Linked DNA regions of Homo sapiens: region 1 is linked to region 2. The links are contacts of gene promoters, found by promoter capture Hi-C in human tissues and cell types (Jung and others, 2019). All regions are on one chromosome and are shown on one strand. The core of a region is centred on a gene start or on the middle of the fragment in contact, and the rest is flanking DNA. Distances in the headings are between cores, read along the strand shown.

Region 1 (4,938 bases), core at 802-3,301, 130 kb before region 2:
GGAGTCATGGACAGTGTTAACTCCTCCCAACAATGATGTGTGGCAGTATGCACAGTGTGTGGCCAACCAAGGAAGCCTATCTGACCCTTGTTATCCAGACTCCTCATTAGGGCACCATCATGTAGACATGGCTGACTGCTAATGTCTCACCTCAATCTCTAGCTCCTCTGAAGGTCACCCTAATATCATGTGACCCAAAGCCCCACATAAATCACATAGTTTGATTATCTGGTGTGGTCCAACGCCCATAGGTAAATAGAGACACTTTTATCTTGCAGGATATTTCAAGGTGTCAGAGATGACCATCTCCCAGGAGCCAAAGGCAAAGACTAGAACTCTCTTTGGAAAAGGTTAAATTATTTACTACACAATGGCTAAGATTTATTTTAGCAAAAGATATAAAACAAAATCAGCAAAGGTAAGCTCATAAGGCAAAGTCTGGAGGAAATCAGGAATGTGCTTCCGAGATTCCTCTCCCAGGGGAGTCACACAGGAGGTACTTAATTCCTCTAGCAGCAACTTGTGTGGTATGTGTGAGATAATAGCAGCTAGACAACATTAGACTTAGTGCCAAGGAATTTACTTAGGGAAGCCATAAAGGTACCCTCTGCCGAGTATATGCTAAAAATCCAGAATCTCAGAAGGAAAGTAGGTGTTCCGCATAAACCACATCATCTGCACAAATAGCTTAGGCACAGTAAGCCACTTGTACCAGTTCCGGGAATGGTAGAAACCCTCATGAAATCCAAGTTCCTTAGAGGTCAGTCAGGGGCCAACGTTGTAAGCACACCTTTCTAAGGAGAACAGTCTCAAAGCCTGCTGTGTTCTTTTCTGAGTTTGTTTAAAAGTATAGAAACTTGCAGTGAGTTTACATTTGAGTGAGGGGATTAAGACTTGCTTCCACAAACCTTGTGCAAAGTAGAAACTAATTAACTAGTAGAAACTAATTAAAATGGTTTATTTTGATGTGTGGGAGTTAGTAAAGTTTTAGTTTCAAAACTGGGTGATATTTAAAGTTATAGAAAGTGAGGAAATGAAGTACATTTGTGATATATTTATTTAAGGAATTGTTGGAATTAAGGTATGTCTTGAACTGTGAGTTACAAATATGTAGCTGGATCTCAATAGTAATTCAGAATTGGAGATGAATGTGTTTTTTATATGTTTTGTGGTGATGGACCCTTAGGAATGGAAGAAATGAATTGCCTATAGATAGCAGAGAAGGACTGATTGATTGGTAGCAAGAGAAACAGGAAACATCCTGTGTTAGAATTCCAGGGCCTCACTATTCATGAAGAAAAGGTAACCAAAGTAAGACCAAGACGTTAGGATAAGACAACGTTGAAAGGTAGTTTATATCTGACTAATTTATGGTTCTTGCTAAAGTGGATATTTCTATGGTGAAAAGGATGTAGAATAATGAGCTTGAATCGTCACATTTGGTAATAATCTTTTATTTGAGTTCATTTTCAAAACCATTAGGCCTTCGTAGTAGAGGCCCCCTGTAAAACCAGCCCCTCTTGCACCCTTAATGAGGTTAGCCCTCTCCACTGTCTACATACACAGTATAATCTGGAAAAAACAGTGGGATTCCCACATGTTTAGTGCATGAAAAACAGGCCAGACTCAGTCATTTTCCATAATTGACCGGGGTTCTGTTCTGTTCTTTTACAGCAAGCACAGCCAGCATCTCTGCCCCTCTGCCCTTTAGCTCCTAAACAGTAAAAACAACTACAGGTTAGAAGGGTATTATGTTCGTCTTTGTAGCAAGTCCTATTGCCTTTCTTTAATTTTTGATCCTGTTGATCAGTCTTCCTGTAATGCCATTTTGGCCCCTGCAATTCCCCATAGTACATGTTTTCTTAAGCTCTAAATCTGTTTCCTTGCTGCCTTCACTTGACCCTCTTATTTTTCCTGTTTGCTTAGCGATCTCTTTAATCTCAAAATGTCTATATCAGTGAGAATTCATACCCTATCTGCCCCTGATTATATGATTGATTTTATTGTTTCTATATTATGTCAAATTGTTTCTGCAGTAAAATAATTGGAGATGCCTTCTGTCTGGACACATTAATTCCTCTGGTTAATGCATACATATACATACAGAAACTATCATTTACCTTTTTGTGTTTTGAAACTTGTGGTATAACTTAGCACACTGCATCTTGTCCTTTTCACTTAATACATTATCCTGCAGCTCAGAAAACAGCTGAAGTTCACTCTTTTTTTAGTAGCTAAGTAATACTACAGATAGAGATATACCATGGTTAATGATGAGGGACCCCTAGTTTGTTTCCAATATAAAGCCTATTTCAATAAGCATTCTTATCAATATAACCTTAAAAACTGGTATCTTAGTTTCTTGAGTAGGTGCCTAAAGTGGGATTGAAAAGATAAAAGATAGGTATATTACATTAGTTTAATTTGCTTCTGTTCATTGATTTTTTTTCCCCTTTCAGATGTGCCAGGTGCAGAGATTAAGGAGTTATCTGCAAAGAGGGCTATTAATGAAGTATTATCGCAGTTTGACACAGTGATAAAATGTACAAGAAACGTATGTAAGGAATGTGGAAATCTATACTGCCACAATATGCAGCTTACTCTCCATAAGAGAAATCATACACAAAAGAAATGCAATCAGTGTTTAGATTGTGGGAAATACTTCACTCGTCAATCAACTCTCATTCAGCATCAAAGAATCCACACGGGAGAGAGACCCTATAAATGTAACGAATGTATTAAAACCTTCAACCAGAGGGCACACCTTACCTAGCATGAGAGAATTCACACTGGTGAGAAACCTTACAAATGTAAGGAATGCAGGAAAACCTTCAGCCAGATGACTCATCTCACACAGCATCAGACTACACATACGAGAGAAAAGTTCCATGAATGCAGTGAATGTGGAAAGGCCTTCAGCCGTGTCTCAGCTCTTATAGATCACCAGCGAATTCATAGTGGAGAAAAGCCGTATGAATGTAAGGAGTGTGGAAGAGCCTTCACTCAAAGTGCCCAGCTCATTAGACATCAGAAAACTCATTCTGGAGAAAAACCCTATGAGTGTAGTAAGTGTAAGAAATCTTTTGTGCACCTGTCTTCCCTGATTGAACATTGGAGAATTCACACTGGAGAAAAACCATATCAATGTAAGGACTGCAAAAAGACCTTTTGTCGTGTGATGCAGTTCACTCTGCACAGGAGAATTCATACTGGTGAAAAACCCTATGAATGCAAGGAATGTGGAAAGTCCTTCAGCGCCCATTCTTCTCTTGTTACTCATAAGAGAACACACAGTGGAGAAAAACCGTATAAATGCAAGGAATGTGGAAAAGCCTTCAGTGCGCACTCTTCCCTTGTTACTCATAAGAGAACACACAGTGGAGAGAAACCCTATACATGCCATGCCTGTGGGAAGGCCTTTAATACTTCCTCCACACTTTGTCAACATAATAGAATTCATACTGGTGAAAAACCCTTTCAGTGCAGTCAATGCGGGAAGTCCTTTAGCTGCAGCTCTCACCTTACTCGACACTGTAGAATGTGTAATGGAAAATTTAGCAAATAACCAAAACTCAAAATGTTAATTCTGATTATTCTGTATCATCACCAGTACTTTGTACTTTGAGTCTTTTTAAATATGCTCTGTTAGTTTGTATGGAATGATATTTCATTGCACTTTTAATTTAACTTAAAAATGCCTTCCCTTGACTGTTGATATGTATTTTTTGTGAAGTGTGTGTTGAAGCCTTGCAGATTATTTTTTAAATTAGAGGTTTATCACTAGGTATATCTCCTAATGCTATCCCTCCCCCCTCCCCCTAATGTAAATGACGAGTTAATGGTGCAGCACACCAACATGGCACATGTATACATATGTAACAAACCTGCACGTTGTGCACATGGTACCCTAAAACTTAAAGTATAATTAAAAAAAAAAATTAGAGGTTTTTCTTCGGGTGCATTTATGAGAGTTCACCAGATTTTGGAAATATTTTCTATTCTGTAACCTACCTTTTCATTTACATAACAGTGATAAAAGCTTTAAGTTTGATCACATCCAATTAATCACATTTTTTAATAGTTATGCTTTTATTTGTTTTTCAGACAGGGTCTTACTCTGTCACCCAGGCTGGAGTGCAGTGGCACAATCATGGCTCACTGCAGTCTCTGCCTCCCAGGCTCAAGTGATCCTCCCACCTCAGCCTCTCAAGTAGCTGGGACTACAGGCATGTGCCACCACACCTAATTTCTATATTTTTTGTAGAGACTAGGTTTCACCATGTTGTCCAGGCTTGTCTTGACCTCCTGAGCTCAAGCAGTCCATCTGCCTCAGCCTCCCAAAGTGCTGGGACTACAGACATGAGCCATTGTGCCTGACCTAGTTCTGCTTTTTATGTTCTAAGAAGTATTATTTATTCTATGCTGAGCTTACATAGAATTTCTTCCATGTTTTCTATAGCTATAGTGTATTTTTACCTTTTACTGTTAGATCTATTTCATGTTTTTATTATGGATAATGGAGGAGGTAAAGGTTGAATTATATTTTCCCCCATATTATTGACCCATAGTGACACCAGTTTTGGGAGATGTCTTTCATTTTCGCCCTTACGTTGTTATTGGCACCTTTTGCAAAAATCAATTATTTATCATGAGTATACTTCTGAAATGATCTGTTTCATCAATCTATTTGTCTTCTCAGTAGTTCCACATTGTCTTAATTATAGCTTTAGAGGAAGTCTTGAAATTTGGTAGTAAGTCTTCCAGTTTTGTTATTTTAACAAATTTCTCTAGGCTGGGCATGGTGGCTCATGCCTATAATCCCAGCACTTTAGGAGCCCCAGACAGGAGGATCACTTAAGCGCAGAAGATCAAGACCAGCCTGGGAAATATAGCAAGACCTTATCTCTACAAAAAAATTTAGAAATTAGCTGGGCATGG
Region 2 (5,052 bases), core at 1,437-3,936:
TCAACTCTCACCTGAAGTTCCAAAAGTTGAGAATATCATATTCTGTCCCAGAAATTAATTTGTAATCCAAATTCACCTGGTCACCAACACTGTTGTTAAATTTGATATTCTTCAGAAAGGAGTTAAGCTTAAAAATAGTGCACTGTTACAGGATGGAAAGAGTTCTGAATTTGGAAAGAAGAAACTTGAATTAGAGTAATACCTTTGAAACTTATTAGATGTGTGGCTTTGGAAAAAGTCCCTTATTGTTTAAATCTTCAACTGTAAAGTTAGTTATTCAATTTTATTTTTACAAGAATTATGTGAGATAATACCTTTGATGGCCCATGAACAAAAATGTGGTATATATAAAGTAAAAATTAGATAAAGAAAACATTATATATGTAATGTAATGATAATTTAATATATAGTATGATAATGGAAATACCCCTTACTTCCTTGGTGGGATGAATGAGGACAGAAGAATCAAAATAATCTCTTGTTATTGGTTGAATTTTGTCTGCCCCAAATTTTGCATGTTGAAGTCCTAACTCCCAGTACCTCAGAATGTGACTGTATTTGGATATAGGATTTTTACAGAGTTAATTAAGTTGAAATGAGGTCGTTAGGGTGGGTCCTAATGCAATCTGACTAGTCTCACCATGTCTCCATGGGTTTTCTCTGGGTACTCCAGATTCCTCCCACATCCCAAAGATGTGCACAGTAAGTTAACTGGTATGTCTAAGTTGTCCCAGTCTGAGTGAGTGTGGGTGTGTAGTAGGCTACACAATCTAGGTTTGTGTAAGTACACTCTATGATGTTTGCACAACAAGGTTCTTAGGAAATTGCCTAAGAACCCATTTCTCAGAATGTATCTCCATCCTTTAGCGATGTAGACTGTATTTCCATACTGTAAATAGTCCCCTTGTGGTGGATTTCAATCTACCAATATGACATCACTGAATGTGGAGTTAGAAAGAAAGGTACAGTTCATGGCTCTCAGTTCCTACAGCTCTTTTAATTTCCTAAATGACTGCAGCAATAAAGTATCTTTTGTTAAAATATCTGGCCTTTTGTTCCTGGTTCCTGAAAAAGCTCCAGAACAGCTCCAGAGCCATAAAGGTGAAAGACAGTATTTCAACCACACATGAGTTTATGTTAATGAGGTGATTTTTGGAAACTCTCAAGATAATCCCAATATTTGGGGGGAGTGGTGGCTAGTTGCCAGAGGAACCAGCCATGTGCTCAGAGGACTGGAACTCACAGCTCCACCCTCTACTTCTGGGAAAAGAGAGAGCCTGAAAATTAAGTTGATCGCCAGTGGCCAATGATTTAATCAATCACATCTACATAATGAAACCTTGAAAACCGAAAAGGCCTGAGTTCAAGCGGCTTCCAAGAAGGTAGACAAAAACACATCCTCGTGCTGGGAGGGTGGTGCACCCCAACTCCACGGGCACAGAAGTTCCTGCACTAGGGATTCTCTCGGACCTTGCCCTACATGTCTCTTCATCTGGCTATTTGTATCCTTTAAAATATCTTTTATAATAAACCAGTAAACATAAGTGTTTCCTTGAGTTCTGTGAGCTGCTCTAGCAAACTAATGGAACCCAAGGAGCCGGCTGTGGGAGCCCCAATTTATAGCACATCTCTCTGAAACACAGGTACAACAATCTGGAGTTTGGAATTGGCATGGGAAGTGGGGGACAGTCTTTTGGGACTGAGCTGTCTAACCTGTAGGATCTGATGTTTTCCAGGTAGCGTCAGAATTGAATTGGAGTAGCGGTCACCTGGCTGGTGTCTGCTGCAGACAGGTTTTTTTGACATGTTAAGACATTATAAGAGACAATAGAAAAAATGTATACGATACAACCTTCTCTGAGTTATATTTCTCCATAGCCCTTTTTACTGTTCATCAGACTGTTTATCTAACTCATGAATTTGTGGCTTGTCTCTCTCCGCTTCAAAGTAAATTACATAATAAGAGGACAGGGATTTTTTTTTCTCTGCTGTATCCCCCTGAATTGCTTTTCCTTATTTGTCTCACCTTCCAATACTAATTCTACAGTTCTCCTAGTCAGGGCTAGTCCCCTAAAACGGGGACCATTTCCATTTTGTTAAGGGGCTGAACGCGGTTCAAGCCTAGCAGATTGGTTCCAAAAACGTCGTGTTATTCACTGCCTCTGATCAGTGACATTCCCATTTGCAGCTGAAAGAGGTATTAATTCGCCAGAGTCACAACACGGTCGGGGTTCCTCGTCGCTGTCTTATTCCAAAATAAGCTTAACACAGAAAGATAATGACACTCCCACGGACTGGCACAGAAGGCCGCGCTCCGAATGACATCGCGATCACAGAGGCACAGACAGCGTCACAAAGCCCCACGCGTACTCACACCGAAGGCTCAGCCGTCGCGCGTTTCCCTCCCAGGCCCCAGGAACTAGTAACTAGGGACGCTTCTGGTCTCTAGGCGAGGAGAGGGGGAGAGCGCAATCTTTGCGCCTGCGCACACTCCTGCTCTTACCCGCCGGAACCCTGGGCCACGCCCGGCTCGCGTAATCACGCACTGCGCAGGCACCGCCCGCTCTGCTCTAAGGTCCCTCTCACTCCTTCAGCAGCCCGAGGACAATCCCCTCAACACTAGGCCACGCCTTGTCTCCGCCCCTCTCGTCCGACCCCTGGAGAGAGGCTGGCGCCTGCGCGATGGGGGGTTCCAGCGTCGACTCACGGAGTCCTTCGGATGAGAGCGTCTGGGTGCCAGACGAGGCCGGGGGTTTGTTTTGGGTGGTTTGGGAGTCCGAGCTCGAGGGCTGGGCCAGGAAGGGCAGGCGAGGCGGGCGGCTCCGACGCGGGTCGCGAAGGCCCAGCCGCGTCCTCTGTCCCCAGGACGACTACATTTCCCAGAGGCCAGCGGGGCGCGCGTACTCGAGTCTGCGGGGCGGAGGCCGCGGCTCGGGGCTGCTGGGCGTTCGGGGCGGCTTGGGGCGGCGGGACCACTGGAGTGAGCTGTGGGAGAGATGGGGGTGTGCCTGTGTGTAAAAGATCTGTCAGAGTGTGAGGCTCCGTGAGAGGGTGTGGTTTCTGTGTGTGTGTGTGTGTGTGTGTGACAGACCGAGAGTCCAGTGTGAGACCAGGGTATGTTCGTGTGTGACAGAGCGAGACGGGCCAGTGTGAGAGACCAGTGAGTGTGAGAGAGATAGGGATGTGCCTGCATTTGAAAGAGAGCGTGTGAAGCTCAGTGAGAGGTTGCGAGGTGTGTGGGTGTGTAAGTGTGTAACAGACCAGGTGTCCAGAGCGTGAGACCAGGATGTATTCGTGTGAGAGAGTGAGACGGGCTGGATGGAGTGTGAGAGACCAGTGAGTGTGAGAGATGGGCGTGTGCCTGTGTGTGAAAGGCCGGTCGGTCGGTGGGTGAGGCTCAATGAGAGGCCGGTGTGTGTTCGAGAGAGAGAAGAATCACCATGTATGCGAGACTAGACTGTGCAAGAACAGAGTGTGAGACTGTGGTATGTTAATGTGTGAAAGGGAGACCAGTGAGTGTGAGAAATGGGTGTTTTGGGTGAAAGACCCGTCAGTGTGTGAGGCCGTGTTATGTGTGTCTGACAGACTGAGAGAGACCAGAGTGTGAGACCAGGGTGTGTTCGTGTGTGAGAGACAACATAGCGTGAGACCAGTGAGTGTGAGAGAGATGAGCACGTGGCTGTGTGTGAAAGACCAGTCATTATGTGAGGCTCCTTGAGAGGCTGGTGTGTGTGTATGAGAGAGAGAAAGAGACTAAACTGTGAGAGTCCAAAGAGTGAGACTAGGTTATGTTGTTATGAGTTTGTGAGAGAGAGGGAGGCGATCAAAGTATAGGACAAAGTTATGTTTCCTGGCTTACGACTTCTAAGATCCTTGGAATCTCCAAAGTATTAAGTGTCTTTTTGCATGCTAATGATTGGTGGGCTGGCAGCCTGTAGGTTGATCACGGTAAGGGATGGTCACAAGAACAATCTAGGCAGGATTAGAGGGTTGGGATTACCTGCCCCATCCCTCAATCTCCAGGGAAAGGAAAGGGAGCCACAGGTTAAACTGATCATCAGTGGTCAGTGATTTAACCAGTCATGCCTACATTATGAAGCTTCCATAAAAACCCAAAAGGACTGGGTTCATCAAACTTCCAGATAGCTGAACACTGGAGGTTCCTGTAGGATGAGCCCCTTCCTATATAACCTTGTCCTATGCATTTCTTCACCTGCATCCTTTGTAATATCCTTTATTACTACAAACGTGTTTCCCTAAGTTCTGTGAGCTGCCCTAGCAAATTAATTGAACGCAAGGAGGGGGTCATAGGAACCCCGATTTATAGCTAGTCAGAAGCACAAGTAAAACAACCTGGGGTTTGCAACTGGCATTGGAAGTGGGGAGCAATTTTGTAGGGCTGAGCCCTCAACCTGTGGGATCTTATGCTGTCTCCAGGTAGATAGTGTCAGAATTGGGTTGCCCTAGAGGTCACCCACCTGGTATTCACTGGGTTGCCCTAGAGGTCACCCACCTGGTATTCACTGAAGAACTTATTGCTTGCCTGGTGTGTGTGTGTGTGTGTGTGTGTGTGTGTGTGTGTGTGTAGATCCCCACACATCTGGTCTTAGAACTGTTTTGTGTTGTGTGAGTGGAGTAGGAGAAACAGTTTGTTTTTCCTCTTTGTCACCTGAGTGTGTTATCAGGGACTGGATTGTGAGAATCCAGAGTGTGAGACCAGGGTATATCAATGTGTGAGAGAAATAGATGTGCCTGTGTGAAAGATGAACAAGTATGAGGCTCCCTGGAGTCTGAGAAAGATCATGTGTGTGTCTGAGTAAAAGCAAGAGACTAGACTGAGAGTTCAGTGATTGGGAGAGACTGGGGTATGTTGGTGTGAGTGTGTGAGAGACCAATGGGTATGTGAGAGACTAGAGTATGTCTCTGTCTGGACTGGTAGGTTGTGAGAGGGTGTATCACAGTATGAAAAAGATTGGAGTGAGAGTGACCAGTATGTATTTTGTGTGCATGAGATAAAGCAGTTGGAATATGAGAGATCAGAGTGTGTTTGTG

Evidence for each region. The method cuts DNA at HindIII sites, captures the fragments that hold promoters and counts their contacts. A contact is called where the count stands out against the background at its distance.
Region 1: a contact is called between a fragment that was not itself captured here and the fragment with the promoter of ZNF471 in region 2, in 2 of the 25 tissues and cell types used here (dorsolateral prefrontal cortex and mesendoderm cells).

What each region holds. Positions count from the first base shown.
Region 1 is chr19:56,374,408-56,379,345 of GRCh38, forward strand. It overlaps the pseudogene ZNF542P. Among named protein-coding and RNA genes, the nearest start is that of ZNF582, 17 kb to the right of the region's middle. RefSeq lists an enhancer at 2,590-3,789. The HindIII fragment of the contact is 6,401 bases long and covers 1-4,938 here.
Region 2 is chr19:56,505,169-56,510,220 of GRCh38, forward strand. It overlaps ZNF471 (zinc finger protein 471), which reads left to right and starts at 2,687. Exons shown (of 5, transcript NM_020813.4): 1 at 2,687-2,752. The HindIII fragment of the contact is 4,462 bases long and covers 1,195-5,052 here.